2 separate regions of the Homo sapiens genome follow, and region 2 is linked to region 1. Evidence: promoter capture Hi-C in 16 types of primary human blood cells and fetal thymus (Javierre and others, 2016). All regions are on one chromosome and are shown on one strand. Each heading gives the region's core, a stretch centred on a gene start or on the middle of the fragment in contact. The rest is flanking DNA. Distances are from core to core; before and after follow the strand shown.

What was found. Contacts are between HindIII fragments. The CHiCAGO score rates a contact against its expected background, and 5 or more counts as called.
Region 2: a fragment that was not itself captured here is called in contact with the fragment with the promoter of LSMEM1 in region 1 in 1 of 17 cell types (neutrophils); the score reaches 5.5 in neutrophils.

Annotation. Positions count from the first base shown.
Region 1 is chr7:112,477,863-112,484,918 of GRCh38, forward strand. It overlaps LSMEM1 (leucine rich single-pass membrane protein 1), which reads left to right and starts at 3,129. Exons shown (of 4, transcript NM_182597.3): 1 at 3,129-3,484; 2 at 6,950-7,056. The coding sequence starts at 6,955. The HindIII fragment of the contact is 7,612 bases long and covers 1-6,028 here.
Region 2 is chr7:111,909,905-111,916,960 of GRCh38, forward strand. DOCK4 (dedicator of cytokinesis 4) reads right to left here. Exons shown (of 53, transcript NM_001363540.2): 13 at 5,875-6,000. Among named protein-coding and RNA genes, the nearest start is that of DOCK4-AS1, 100 kb to the left of the region's middle. The HindIII fragment of the contact is 8,358 bases long and covers 230-7,056 here.

The DNA of each region.
Region 1 (7,056 bases), core at 1,879-4,378:
TAATGCTCTTTTTTTTGGCTTTTTATGCACATCATTGATTCTTCCCAAACAGTCCCAAATAAATTTGTCACAACTTTTCTTGATTCTGTACTTGTTTCAATCTAGACTAGTTTCTCTCATCCAATTGTATAGCAGTTTTCCTGAGACAGCACTATCGTGAGGATTTGTTTTTCTTTCTCTTGAATTGTATCCCTCATTTTCTGGATCCCATGTCTTAATTTACTTCTTTGTTAACATGGAGCACTTCTTTCAGTAGTTTCTTGGGAATGAGTGCGTGAGAGATCAGTCAGTTATTTAGTGACTTCATATTTCTGAAAGATAGTTTGCATGGAAATTCTAGGTGGAAAATCAAATTTGGAATTTTTGAAAATTTTGACAAGTGTATTCAAATTCAGAATTTTGAAGGCATTGCTCTATTCTAATTTGCAAAATCTTGAGATATCTGATGCAGTTTTTATTTTTATTTCTTTGTTTTCTCAGCATCTCTGTTTCTAGTGTTCTAAAATTGCATGATACTGTGCTTTGGTGGGATTGGCAACCTGGAAAATATTAAGTTCTTCATCTCTTCTCTTCCTCCTCATTTTCTTTGTTCTGGAACTCTATGACATAGTGGAGCTCCCAAATTGAATCTTGGGCCTTATTTATTTTTTTTTTTTCTGTCTGGGATATTTCTCTAAGACAATTTTCCAATTTGTATTGCATTTTGTTTTTGGCTAGCATTAAATTACTTGCCTCTGTGTAGCTCCATGCCACACTCTTGCCTCTAAATCCTAGGCCTGCCTGAATTCTGCAGGATCAGTCCTACTGTCACTCATCTGTGATAGCCCTGCTAAGGCAGATACCACTCTTCTTACCATGTTCAATACATTTATTGAGCTCTTCAGTATTGTTTCTTCCTATTTTAATTTTTCTGGTTTTGTAATTTGTACTCCTGCTTTTTTACTGGGCTTTTGGGAGGAAGAAGGTATAGAGTGTTAATCTGCATGTTGAATTTATATGCAGGTGACTTTATTCATGAAACTTGTGGTAACTGCTAGACAAGGGTGGCTGGGTGTTCAATGTGTAAGAATGCTTGTGTTTTCTTGAAAGTAGAAAAATGTTGTGTTATAGACTAGTTGTTCATTGCTTGATTCTTGATTAATTTTGCCCGCTTTCATTATTTTGAGGCTCAAGCATTTTGAAGTATTCATTGTCTGTGACTCCTCTTTGATGGGTACTAAATTTCCTGGGAGTGAATTTAGATACCCTGAGATGTAATATATGAAAGAAAAAGCAAATACTTGAGAATGTCCCTAGATTAGACACTTCATGTGAGAATATCTCTTTTTGTGACCCAAAACTCTTTTTTTTTCTTTTGAGATGAAGTTTCGTTTTTGTTGCCCAGGCTGGAGTCCAATGGTATAATCTGCCTCAGCCTCCTGAGTTGCTGGGATTACATGCATGTGCCACCACACCCGGCTAATTTTGTATTTTTAGTAGAGATGGGGTTTCTCCTTGTTGGTCAGGCTGGTCTCGAACTTCCGACCTCAGTTAATCTGCCTGTCTCGGCCTCCCAAAGTGCTGGGAATACAGGCATGAGCCACCGCACTCGGCCCCAAAACTCTTCTTAAAGGTGGTCTTGCAGGTATGTTATAGTTAAAATGAAGTAGGTTGTCTTGCTTTGTTCTTAAGTGGCTTTCCAGAAGTCTAACTGGTCTAAAGGCAGTCTTATCCCCCTCACTGGTGTATAGTTCAATTCAGACTTGAATGCGAGGTATGGGTTTACATCTCATCTCTGCCACTTATAATCAGTGTATCCCTCAACAATTAAATTCCTTAGTCTCCATTTCCTTCCTCCTTCAGGGGAAGTTAATATTCCACAAAGTTAGAAGTTACAGGAGAGGAAAAGTAGTAAACGCCCCAAAATGAGGCAGTTACTTCTATTATATCTTCAAAGGATACATGGCTCAAGGCAGATCAGGTAGTTGGGAGATTTCTTAAAAACAGCATAATAGCTAACATGAACATTTTCATTATTCAGAGAAATTTGACATAGCTTTTTAACGTATGTTTCTGAGAAAAGTTACTAGTTATATTGTCTTCCTCCAAGAATTAGTCTTTGGGTACAGATGAGGCTTGAAAAAATGACATTCCCTCTTAGACTAGGTAGTGTGAAGGGAAAAAAAAAATGACATTCCTCTTCCCCCAAAGCAGAGTGAGGTCCGTATGGGATATAGGTGTAAAGAAAATTTTGGGCCGGGCATGGTGGCTCAAGTTTGTAATCCCAGCACTTTGGGAGGCCGAGGTGGGTGGATCACTTGAGGTCAGGAGTTCAAGACTAGCCTGACCAACATGGTGAAACCCCATCTCTACTAAAAATAAAGAAATTAGCCAGCTATGGTGGCACATACCTGTAATCCCAGCTACTTGGGAGGCTGAGGCAGGAGAATCTGGAAGCAGGAAGGTCTCAGTAGGCTGGGATCATGCCACTGCGCTCCAGCCTGGGCAACACAGCAAGACTCTGTCTCAAAGAAAATTTTGTGGAACACCTATTTTCTCACTGACATGAAAAATGTTTCAAAGATGAATAATGTCCATCAAGCTATGGCAATGGAAGTGAGGATGATAAAGGATTGCACAGTTGTTCACAACCTCACTGTTAGTATCCTGCTGAGATAGTTGGTCTCCTCATCACTGTAGCATCTTTTATGTACAGCAGAGGGCAGAAGCTCCTTGGCATGTATGTGAGGGAACCACATATATGGAAGGCTGTTATTCCTGAGAAAGGAGGATGTGCAGACACTCACAGAACAAAGCCTTTGTAAAGGAAAGGCGGCCGATGAGATGGAGTGCTTCCTTCACCTGTGGTGGGTCTGTATCCATGAAATCGCCCACTCACAATCGCTTTTTGTAGCTACTGGAAGCACTAGGCGTCTGACCTGCCATCATCCTTGTTATGATGTCATAATCATATTCTGTCCGTGTTTATTGCAGTTCTCTGGTTTGTCTGGAGTGTTTGCAAGTCAGTCATCATAGTGGCAGCTTCCGCCTGCTACAGGATATTTATATATGGAAGCATACCATGGCAGGAGTGCTGGAAAGGTGGTGTCAGCTAACAGTTGCTTCAGCCAGATAAGGACGGTAACTTCAGTCCAATAAAAACCTCATCAGTTACCAACTAAATCAGGGCATGGTGTTTTTTTGTTGTTTTCTTTTTAAAGCATAGTTTTAGTAATATATTTACTAAAAACCTTAGACATTATGAAAAAAGTCAGGATTTGGAATCTTACACTGCTTGGCTAAATTGACACAATATAGACCAACAGTTTCATCCTGGGGCTTATGGGTCTCATAGGAGCACCCGTATGCTGAAGAAAGGCAAAGAGAGAACTACAGAATTTGTAGAAAAGTTTTGTTGTAGTTGCTTCTGAACAATTAGTTTTTGTTTGTTTGTTTTGTTTTGTTTTGTTTTTCTGGTAACCTAGCAGTCAAAGCTCACATTTTTGTAAGTAATTTGCATGCTATTACTCTACTGAGACTGAATTATGATTCTCGAGTCTGGGAAGTTTTTGTTGCATGTGCTCTGTGTTTTTCATTTTTGATAGAAATGATTTAGACTTGATTTTAAAAATTACTTCCTGAATGTGAAGAGGCATTGACTGGGAAATGAAATTAAAGAACAAATTACCATGACTCATTCAATAACACTGCTTATTAGCTTTGAATTATGCCCTATTATAACAATTCTGATTTTGTGGCAAGCAATACTGGTGTGAGTTATTTCTGTGGTTTGATACCAAGCACCTGCCTGGTTAAAAAATAAAGCACCAGGCAATTTTTCATAGACAATTATCTTTATTTGTTGGAATATTTATTTGTAAATAGTCAAAGAATTCTTAAATGACAAAAAATCAACTGTTAGCAGTGATCTAAACCAGAGGAAAATGAAATTACTTACATGTTTCCAGTCAAGGTATAAGAAAGGGTTCTGTTAAAGGGATGCTGCTTTAGCCAATCTTGGTGAATAAGCAAATTTGCACACTGGAGTTGAAAGGAGGGTCAAGTTAGTGTGATGAAGAATTGCTAGTAACACTGGCTTCTCCAGCCTTGCTGGTTGTTCCTAGATGCCCTCATTTGGAGATGCCAAAGATAGCAACTACTGGGTGTCAAACAGCCGTGGGGCCTGGTTTTAAGGCCATGTGATCTTGTATCCCTTTACTAGCAGCCTCATGAGTCATTTGCAAGTCATTTGCAGGCTCTTGGAGCCCTGGAACAGCACCCAACTCAGTTTTCTCTGCTAGTTCTTTATTTTTCCATTTGCGTGTTGCAGCTCATTAAAAAAATATTGGAATAGCATATATTTACATTGTGACTTCACTCTAAAGAAGACATTTTCTTTCAAAGCACGTCATGGCTCACTAGGTTGTTGTCTTAGTTTTTTTTGGAGTCACCTTTTGAGTAGATAGCAAGACCAGTAATATGGAGATTTTATTAGCTGTACTCTTAAAGTCAGTTTTTGTGGCCATGATTTTCTAGCTAGGTCTCTATTTTGTAAACATTGATTAAGCCTCAGTATGAAATTGAAGCAACAGCAGATACATTCCTGAAGGGGAAGCTAAGGCTCAAGGCTATTAAGTCAGAGATCCAAAAATGAACCATGCTTCAGTTACCACACCTAAAATAGAAGCTGTGTGCAGAACAGTGGTCCTGTGATGTGACACATAAAACTTTTTTTCCTGGTCACATATTACTGTTTGGTCAAATATTAGTATAAATGGATGATAAAATATGAAACACATCTAAAAGAATTGTTTTAAAATCTGTGACTATGCATGAGTGAATATTTTGGGGCCTTGGTTTTAACTGCAAAAGGATAAGATTTGACTGACCTCTAAGGCCCTTTTACTCTATTTGCTGCTGCTTTTTAATTTTTTTTAATTGTCATATCAAGTCATTTCCTTAGGAATGCTCTATGAAGTATATTTGGAATTCAGTAATGTCAATAAAGTGCTATGGTAGTATCTTATCTGAAAACTCAGGGAATTGTTTGTTCTTGTTAATTAAAATTTCAAGATAAGTGAAACACACTTTTTTAGTTTTAACCCTAAAAAAAATTTTTAGTCCATGACTTTTTGAGCTCACTTTCTTAGCTAGGGTTCTGGTAGCACATTTTTCACAAGTACCAGTAGTTTTAGGTATTACTGGGAAATTGTTTTTTTAATATTTTAGACTAAGTTTAAATTGCTCAGTAAGTGTCTGATACTTTTTTTCCCCACATCTTCTTTAGGTGTATACTTTTTTTTTTTTTTTATGAATTTGGTTTCTCCCAACTCTATATTGCTCTTCATTCTGTAGATGAGTTTTAAAGGAAATTTTTGCAACAACAGAAAGTAAACAGTGTGTTGTCAAATACACACAGGCACCATATTTATCGCATTGACTTTACTAGAGTCCAGATAGACATCACATGAGGATTTTTATCCTCAATCTTATTTCTGTTCATGTACTTATTATTAACTGCCTCCAATTCTTTTGAAAATGGTGAGATTTAAATCCTAAATAAACATTTCAGGTGTTCCATCTTAACATAAGTCACCAACTTCTAAACCTGGCACTGGGCATTTGAAGAATAGGATTCGTCCCTACTCTAAGGAGTTTTCAGTCTATCGGGAAATCAAAGATGTAAGCAAATAGATGCAATAAAATACTACAGATGTTCTGATAGAAGAATGTAAAGAATCCAGCAAAGGCAAAAGGAAAGACAGGTTGGTTCTCTCTTCCTAGGGGAAGTGATGTTTGAGCTGAGTCTTGAGGCAGGATTAGGAAGGGATATAGAAAAGAAAAGTAGCACAAAGCAAGACTCATTGAATGCTGAACAAAAGGCCCGATTCCAGCTCTGCTGCCAGGCAAATGTGTGATCCTGGGCATTTACCTCGCCGAGCTTCCATTTCCTCATTTGCGGAAAGGATGGGAACTAAAGCACATCTAACACCCTTTCTAGATCCAAACATCCTCTATCACGATTAGACTTGATAACCATGAAAGGAAAAGCTTTTATAGTAATTGAAATTTGTCTTTCTAGAGGCTTCTTTTCACATAATTAAATGGCCACAAGTTCTCTGTTGTGCTAGAGATACATCTCCACATAAACCTTTTAAACTCTTCAGGATTTTCAGTGTTGCTTGCAGTTGTGCTGTCGTTAGAGAATATTACTTTCAATATTTAATAAACCTCAAGCTATTACATAAGTGACCTCAGTCTAAGGGAAACCCAGGTGGAAGAGATCTCAGAGGTCCTGAAGTCTAGCAGCATTCCTCTCTATAGCAGCTAAGTTTGCTAAGATTGTTGTCTTGGGGACTCACAGTCAGCATCTTATGGCTAAAGGAATTGTGTGAAGAGAAGGACTTACATGCCATATGGAGGGAGGCTATAAAAATTGCAATTTTCTATTAAAGCCTCCTGCAATTAGAATGGTTCATGGTAATATTCTCTTTTTTCAGAATGTTTTGTGGCCACTGCTGACTAGCTTAATTTTGTCTACCTAGTCTTCTTGCACAAAGGATTTGAGGCATCTCACCAGAATGTGAACAATGTAATAAAAGAAAAATTTTAAAATTAGTTACAAAATAAAAACAGATCCAGGGAAAATATAGGCAGAACTGAGACATCTGAGGAGGAGAAAAGAGTGTTTGCAGATAAGCAGGGTATACATGGATGTACAATTCTTAAAATTGGGCCACACATTTGACTGTGAGCTTCCTGGCAAGCAAAGCAAAAAGAACGATTACAAAGTGGTCCACAGAAGGAAATATTTTTTTCTGGATAAGCCAAGTTCTCTAGAGCCTTAGTTGAAAATACTATTTGTGGGTGGTTCTTCATAGGCCTGTCTGGCTTCCTGGTGGCTGTGGTTCTTGTGAAGTTGAGTTCACAAGCCCAACCTCTTGTTTTTAACATCAGTGTTTTCTTCCAGGGACAATGACTCATTCTTCCCAGGACACTGGTTCTTGTGGCATTCAGGAAGATGGAAAGCTTTATGTGGTGGATTCCATAAATGACTTAAACAAACTAAACCTCTGT
Region 2 (7,056 bases), core at 3,159-5,658, 570 kb before region 1:
TGAGCCATGATTGTACTACTACACTCCAGCCTGAGTAACAGATGGAGACCCTGTTTAAAAAAAAAGAAAAAAGAAAAAAAAAAAAACGTTTTAGGGCTAAGAGCTTCAAAGACCTACTAAAAGTGAATGCACTGAAATGTATAAATGATGGGTTCCCTAACAAAGAATGACAGTTTAACCAATGGATATGTGGGAACAAGTCTCTAAAGAAATAGGGTACAGGCATGAAAGCTTAAATAGTGAAATCATGATGGAGGCAAAGAAAATTTTGCCTGGAAAGAATCACAGAGTAAAAAATGGACATTTGGGGAGCAGGGAAGACAGTCAGATCTTCCATGCCATTCCTGATACATCAGCCAGCTTTGCTCCAGAATGTCTGATGGATGGAAACTTGGATCTCCCTGATGCTTAGCAATAGGCCAGGCCTGCTTTGCCTAGGGTCTGTTAAGATGTTTAGAGTTGGGCTGTCCAACAGGGTGACCACTGCCACATGTGGCAATGGAGCCCTTAAAATGTGACTCGCTGAAAAGAGACATGCTGTACATGTACGATACTTGCCAGCTTTCAAAGACTGAGGTTGAAAACAGAGTGTAAAATAACTCATCAGTAGTTTTTCATATGGATCTCCTATTAAAACGCTAATATTTTGGATGTTTTAAGTTAAGTAACATATATGGTTAAAACTAATTTCATCTCTTTTATTCTCACTTTTTTAAAGTGGCTACCAAAACATTTAAAATTAGCTTTGTCGCTCAAATGATGTTCCTACTGGAAAGCACTGATTAAAATAATTTGCTGCTCTCCCTCCCTCTCATAGCCCAGACCGTGGAACGCCTTCAATCAGTTATTTGGCTTGGAGGTGGCAGTGACAGAGCTTCACAGAAAATGTTTTTTCTCAGTTGGAAGTCTGACACTCTAAGAAATAAAGTGCTGTGTGACAGACCCTTAACCAAGGAAGAGTCCAGAGGACTTCATGATGACTCAGAAGCATATGGACAGGTACCTCCTCACACCAGGAGACCTGTCTGTACAATAGTGAGACAAGTGGAGAATTTCTGCGCCTACGTTTTTCCCATTTCAAAAAGAGTCTGGCATTGATTACATTCTGTGATCGAAAAGAGTTTTGTGTATGTTCTTGTCCTTGTCAGGATCACAGATAATTCATTCTGCAGAGAGGCGGTGACTGTGTGCATAAACTGGGTCCTGTTGGTATAATCATGTGCCTCACCTGTTTTGACCCTATCAGAATGCTAAAGATGCAAATTAACTCTGAAGGACACATCTAGACAATGAAAAAAAAATTATGCTTGCAGACGGTCAGTGTAACATTGGGATCAGAAATATTGTTCACACACACTTTCTCATGGAAGAATTCAGCTCAAGTTTTCATTAGAGCCACTGGTGAGAATGAATTGACAAGTCTGAAAGTAACAAAGGAAAACAAAACAATGATTGCATGTTTCCTAGTGTAAAAAATTCCACTGAGTTTTAAAGTTGCTTTCAGTTGTTTAAGGAAATACACACATCTCTCCCTTTTCTATTATGGAAGATTAAAAAGCCAGAGGAAGAAAGGGAAAAAAAAAAGAGAAGGAAGTGCTTTTAAAAAAACCTCTTTTGTACTCCCCTGAACTACAGACACATGTCTGAAAGAACAATTTTCCTGGACAGTGTAGACTTCGCATTACAAGGTGGTACCGGAAAGGGACAGAAACGAGCCTTATTCCACAGAAGTTCATGCCCATCATTAAAGCCACACAAAAGCTGCGTGAGCACAGCAGATCCCAGACAATTAATCAGCCAGTGAAGTGTCATCTTGCTTTATATTTTTCAATTTCTCCATGATACTGCCCAGAGACCAAGCTGAGGAATTCTTCCAGCAGCTGGCTGCATTCTGCTCTAAAATGTTTTTTTTTTTAATATATTAGATTTGCCCATCAATTTGCTTCCCAGTGGGATGAATTTTTTTTGTTGTTGAAGAGGAAATACCAGTTATTTATAGCAACTGAAGGAAATAATGGACAGTTGCAAGGGCCACAGAATAGCATGCCACCAAGTAAACAGTTCTATAAACAGTCATTTTCGACAACAGTACCATGAGATGCTCAGGCTGACTGGGTCCCTAAGCTAGGTCAGGTCATCTGAGGAAAACTTACAGGATGTTCTCTCAGCCTTCCTTGCATGAAGGAATTTCAGTCGGGCAATTACAAAATGGTGCAATGGGCGATACTGGTCATTTTAGGTCTTTATTCATAGCAATCTCATTATTGGGTCTCATAGCTATGCCAGGTGCCTTGTCAGATACAACTTCCTTTGCTTGCACTTACACATGGGATTTAAACAGTGGTTTAGAAGACCTCATTTAAAACAAATACTGTCAACAATTTAAGAGTATTTTATTTGGTCTATTGTTTTTCCCTTTTCTTGGTTGTGGAGGGTGGGGTATGGAGCACCCAGAAATACTACTACTTAGTATGCTATTCGTCATCTTCTATCTGTAGACAAAAGGGCAGAAGCTCTTTGTTTCTATGGAAGATCAAACACAAGTGAGGTCCTTTTATAATAAAATTCATGACTTAAAAAAACTCATTTCTTGATTTGTAAAAACAAGAGGATATGTCAAAAAAATTTTAAATGTAAGCCACAATAACCTGTGTAGCTTAGTCCTATTCTGAGGAGGGAGGAAGCAGAAGAGGGGGAGGAAGAGGAGGAGGAGAAGGAAAGAAGATGGAGGAGGGAGGAAAGATAAGAAGAAAAAGAAAGATTAAGATCAAGACAGAAAGGAAAAGAGAAAGAAAATAAGAGGTCCAGACACACACAAAGAAATAGATAGGTATAGACAGAACCAAGGCTTGTTGAAGATAACCCCAGCTGGTCATAGCCCTGTGTTCCTAGGGACAGTGTGAAATTTCTAGAACTCTAGTGGTTCATTACTAAATAACAATTAGACTTTTTCTTTTTTTTTTGCTTTTAAACTTCAAAAGTTTTTAAAAGGCTATTCTCTCACAAAATTATGACTTTCACAGAATTTTAGAAATTAAAATTTTTTAGAGCATAGAAATTTCCTTTTTTTTTTTTTTAGATGGAGTTTCGTTCTTGTTGCCCAGGCTGGAGTGTAGTGACAGGATCTTGGCTCACTGCAACCTCCGCCTCCCGGGTTCAAGCGATTCTCTTGCCTCAGCCTCCTAAGTAGCTGGAATTACAGTCACATGCCACCATGCCCGGCTAATTTTTTGTATTTTTAGTAGAGACGGGGTTTCACCATGTTGTCCAGGCTGGTCTTGAACTCCTGACCTCAGGTGATCTACCCGCCTCAGCCTCAGTGCTGGGATTACAGGCATGAGCCACTGCGTCAGGCCAGAAATCTCCTTTTAACATTGGAGGTGGGCCAGGCACTGTGGCTCAAGCCTATCATCCAAGCATTTTGGGAGGCCAAAGCAGAAGGATAACTTGAGCCCAGGGATTAGAGACCAGCCTGGGCAACATAGGGAGATCCCATCTTTACAATTTTTTTTTTTTTTTTTTTGAGACAGAGTCTCGCTCTGTCGCCCAGGCTGGAGTGCAGTGGCGCGATCTCCGCTCACTGCAAGCTCCACCTCCCGGGTTCACGCCATTCTCCTGCCTCAGCCTCCCGAGTAGCTGGGACTACAGGCGCCCGCCACCACGCCCGGCTAATTTTTTGTATTTTTAGTAGAGATGGGGTTTCACCATGTTAGCCAGGATGGTCTCGATCTTCTGACCTCGTGATCCGCCCACCTCGGCCTCCCAAAGTGCTGGGATTACAGGCATGAGCCACCGCGCCCGGCCACAATTTTTTTTTTTTTTTTTTAATTAGCCAGGTGTGGTGGTATATGCTTGTAGTCCTAGCTACTCAGGAGGCTGAGGTGGGAGGATCACTTGAGCCCAGGAGTTTGAGACTGCAGTGAGCAATGACTGTGCCACTGCACACCAACCTGGACAACAGAGTGAGACCCCATCTCTAAAAAAGAAAACACAAACAAACAAAGAAACAAAAGAAACATCAGAGGTACAGCCATGTTGGCTATGACTACACAGTCTTTCACTATTAAAGCAGGTACTTGCTATTAGTGCAGTGGAGAACAAAGACTCGGGGGATGTGGGCCTAGAATCATTAGCATTGAAGACCCTGCTCAGGTGTTACCTCCTCAGGAAATTTTAACGAGACTCCTTCAATAAGATTCTACAACTCCTCTGTGCTCTCCATGCTGCATTCTCCAACTCCTTTCGGGTTACAGCGTGTCTCTGCCTGTGGACTGTAATCCCCCTCAAAGTATAAACAGGTCTTACTCTCGCCATCTCCACTGCTAACACCTTGCTCAACACCATGATCACCACTTACCTGGATTAGTTCAAACAGCCTCCAAACCGGTCTCCCTGTTTCTCTGCTGCCCTCCCATATTCCCTCCAGGTATAATCTCTATACAGCAACCACAGTGATCCTGTGGCAATGTAAAGCAGTGTCACACCTCTGTTCCAAACCCTCTAGCTGTTTCCTTTCTCATTCTGAATAAGACCCAAAGTGCTGAGTGTGACCTACAAGGTCCACATGACTTCCCTCTTCGAATCTCCATTCCCATCCCCAGTACTGTATTTTGACCAAGTTAGCCTTCTTGCAGTTCCTCAAACAAGCCACGATTCTATGGCTGCAGGACCACTGCCCTTATTGTTGCTATGCCTGGAATCCTCTTATCTGCACGGCTTCCTCATGTCTTTTAGGTCTCTACTCTACTGCCTTCTCACCTAAATTTCTTACCTACCACAAATCTCCATCTCTCCACCCACTACCCTCTAAGACATTCCCTAGCCCTTTACCTACACTGGTTTTCACCTGAGCATTCATCATCTTTGAACATACATGTTTTACTTACATATTTATTATAATTTTCCTTATTACAAAGTAAGTCCTATGGGTTTCTTCTGTTGTGTTCAGTTTTATAGCCCCAGTATTTGGAAGAATGCCTTTGTACATAGAAAGTGCTAAATATTTATTTGTAGAATGAATGAACTCATCTTTTTAACTTTTGGCTCCTGGCACAAAGTTTTGATTGATGCTCAATCAATGCCTGCTGACTGACTAAATCAATTTTTGCTAAACACACATCCTTCCTCATCAGCAAACGTACTATTCTTATCCAATTCATAAGTTGTAGATGAACACACTCAGAAAACCCTAAATTTCCATAAGCACATAAAGGGGTGTGCTTTTAAACATTTATTTTCGTGGAGAGATTACGACTGACCCACTCCCAAATGCATCAGCTTCAATGAATCTGGCATTCATGTCACACTGTAAAACTGCTTAACCCACATCTTTTCTACTTTTGGGGAATTTTGGGGGCACTAATATAGATCTAAATCATACACACAAATAGATCTAGAAAAGGTATAGAAGTACATATAATATTTGCATATGGCTGCTTATTTACATATGGCTAACTAGTGTTCAGTACGTTTTTATCAAAACTTAGGATATCCTCTAAGCATCTTCACCAACATTTTCCATCAAGGAGTACAATATTTTCTGGACAGTAACTCAGTTTTCCTCCTTCTCCTGGTCATAATGAAATGTAGCCATGGCCCCCACAAGTTAACAACTTTAGAATAATCAGAATGTAAAGACATTTTTGAGCTTCAAATCACTGACAAGAAAGTTTATACAAAAGGAAATATTTTAAAATTAAACTGAAAAGGATATTTTAGAAAAAAATGTGCTTACTTACAGTCACATACCTCATTTCATTCTTCAGCATGGCCCATGTGAATGCTTCAAAGCTGGCAATTTGAAAAATTTCTCAAACATCAAAAACAGATAGTATACCCATATTTCATCATATCGGTACGTCCCAAGTCACCTACCAGGCATAATAATATTTGAAAATCCCAGCTTCCTTGTTATGGATACTCCATGAGAAAATACTGATGAATATTCCCTTCTGATTTGTTCAATGTCTCCGTGCAATAGCTGTAAGGAAACTGCTAAACCTAAAACAGATGAGAGATACCCGAGTTAAAAACAGAATAGAAATAGAATAAAGAGAAACTGATGTGTTGCAACAAGCCCAAATTTAGAATATCATGGTTTTAAACTAAGGGTTAATATTCCGACGAAATCGACAGAATCTATATGAATCATATCTGAATAACACTTTTCCAACTTCAACATCTGAGTTTCCCATTCATAAGGAGGTTCATAGCAAGTGGAGAAAATGAGCAGAACTCTAAGAGGCAGCCTGGCTTCCAACCCCCAAATCTCTCCTCCAACCCTAGTCTGGTGGAGCACGTTCCTGCGCCAACACTTATTCCAGAAGTAGATGAAGGTCACCTTGCCCTAAAAAATACTGACATCAAAATGGGAGGTTTAAAACAAAACAAAACAAAACAAAAGGCCTATGAATAGTTGCTTATCAAATATCAAAAGCATGAACACAAATCTGAAGACATATTAATTTAAGGATTTAAAGGATATTGATAGAGATTTTCTTGAAACATAAGTAACAAAGCCGATTATAATGAAACCAGGATTATATTAATAATATATACAGTAGAAACTCATGATGACATGATTTTCTAGTGAGGAGAATTTAGCAGAATACAGGACACCTTGACAAAGAAAAGAGAATTTAGTCAGTAAAGTAGGAAAAATTATTATTTTTACCCCAATTATAAGGACATTACCTTAGCTGGATATACAGAAGATGCAAAACACTTTTTATCATATATTATTTTCTCAATTTCCAGGCAAGAAGTACAGAAAACTTTAATGTCATATCATTGTGAATATGTCTGTATGCATACTCCAAAGATAGCACTTCTCTTTCAGCTTTTTCATTCCTTCTTTGTTTATCTTCTTATGTTTTAATTTTTAAGATAGCCAAATTATTATATTTTTAATTTTTTTATTTCCATGGGTTATTGTGGAATAGGTGGTATTTGGTTACATGAGTAAGTTCTCTAGTGGTGATTTGTGAGATTTTGGTGCACCCATCACCTGAGTAGTAAACCCTGAACCCAATTTGTAGTCTTTTATCCCTCACCCAC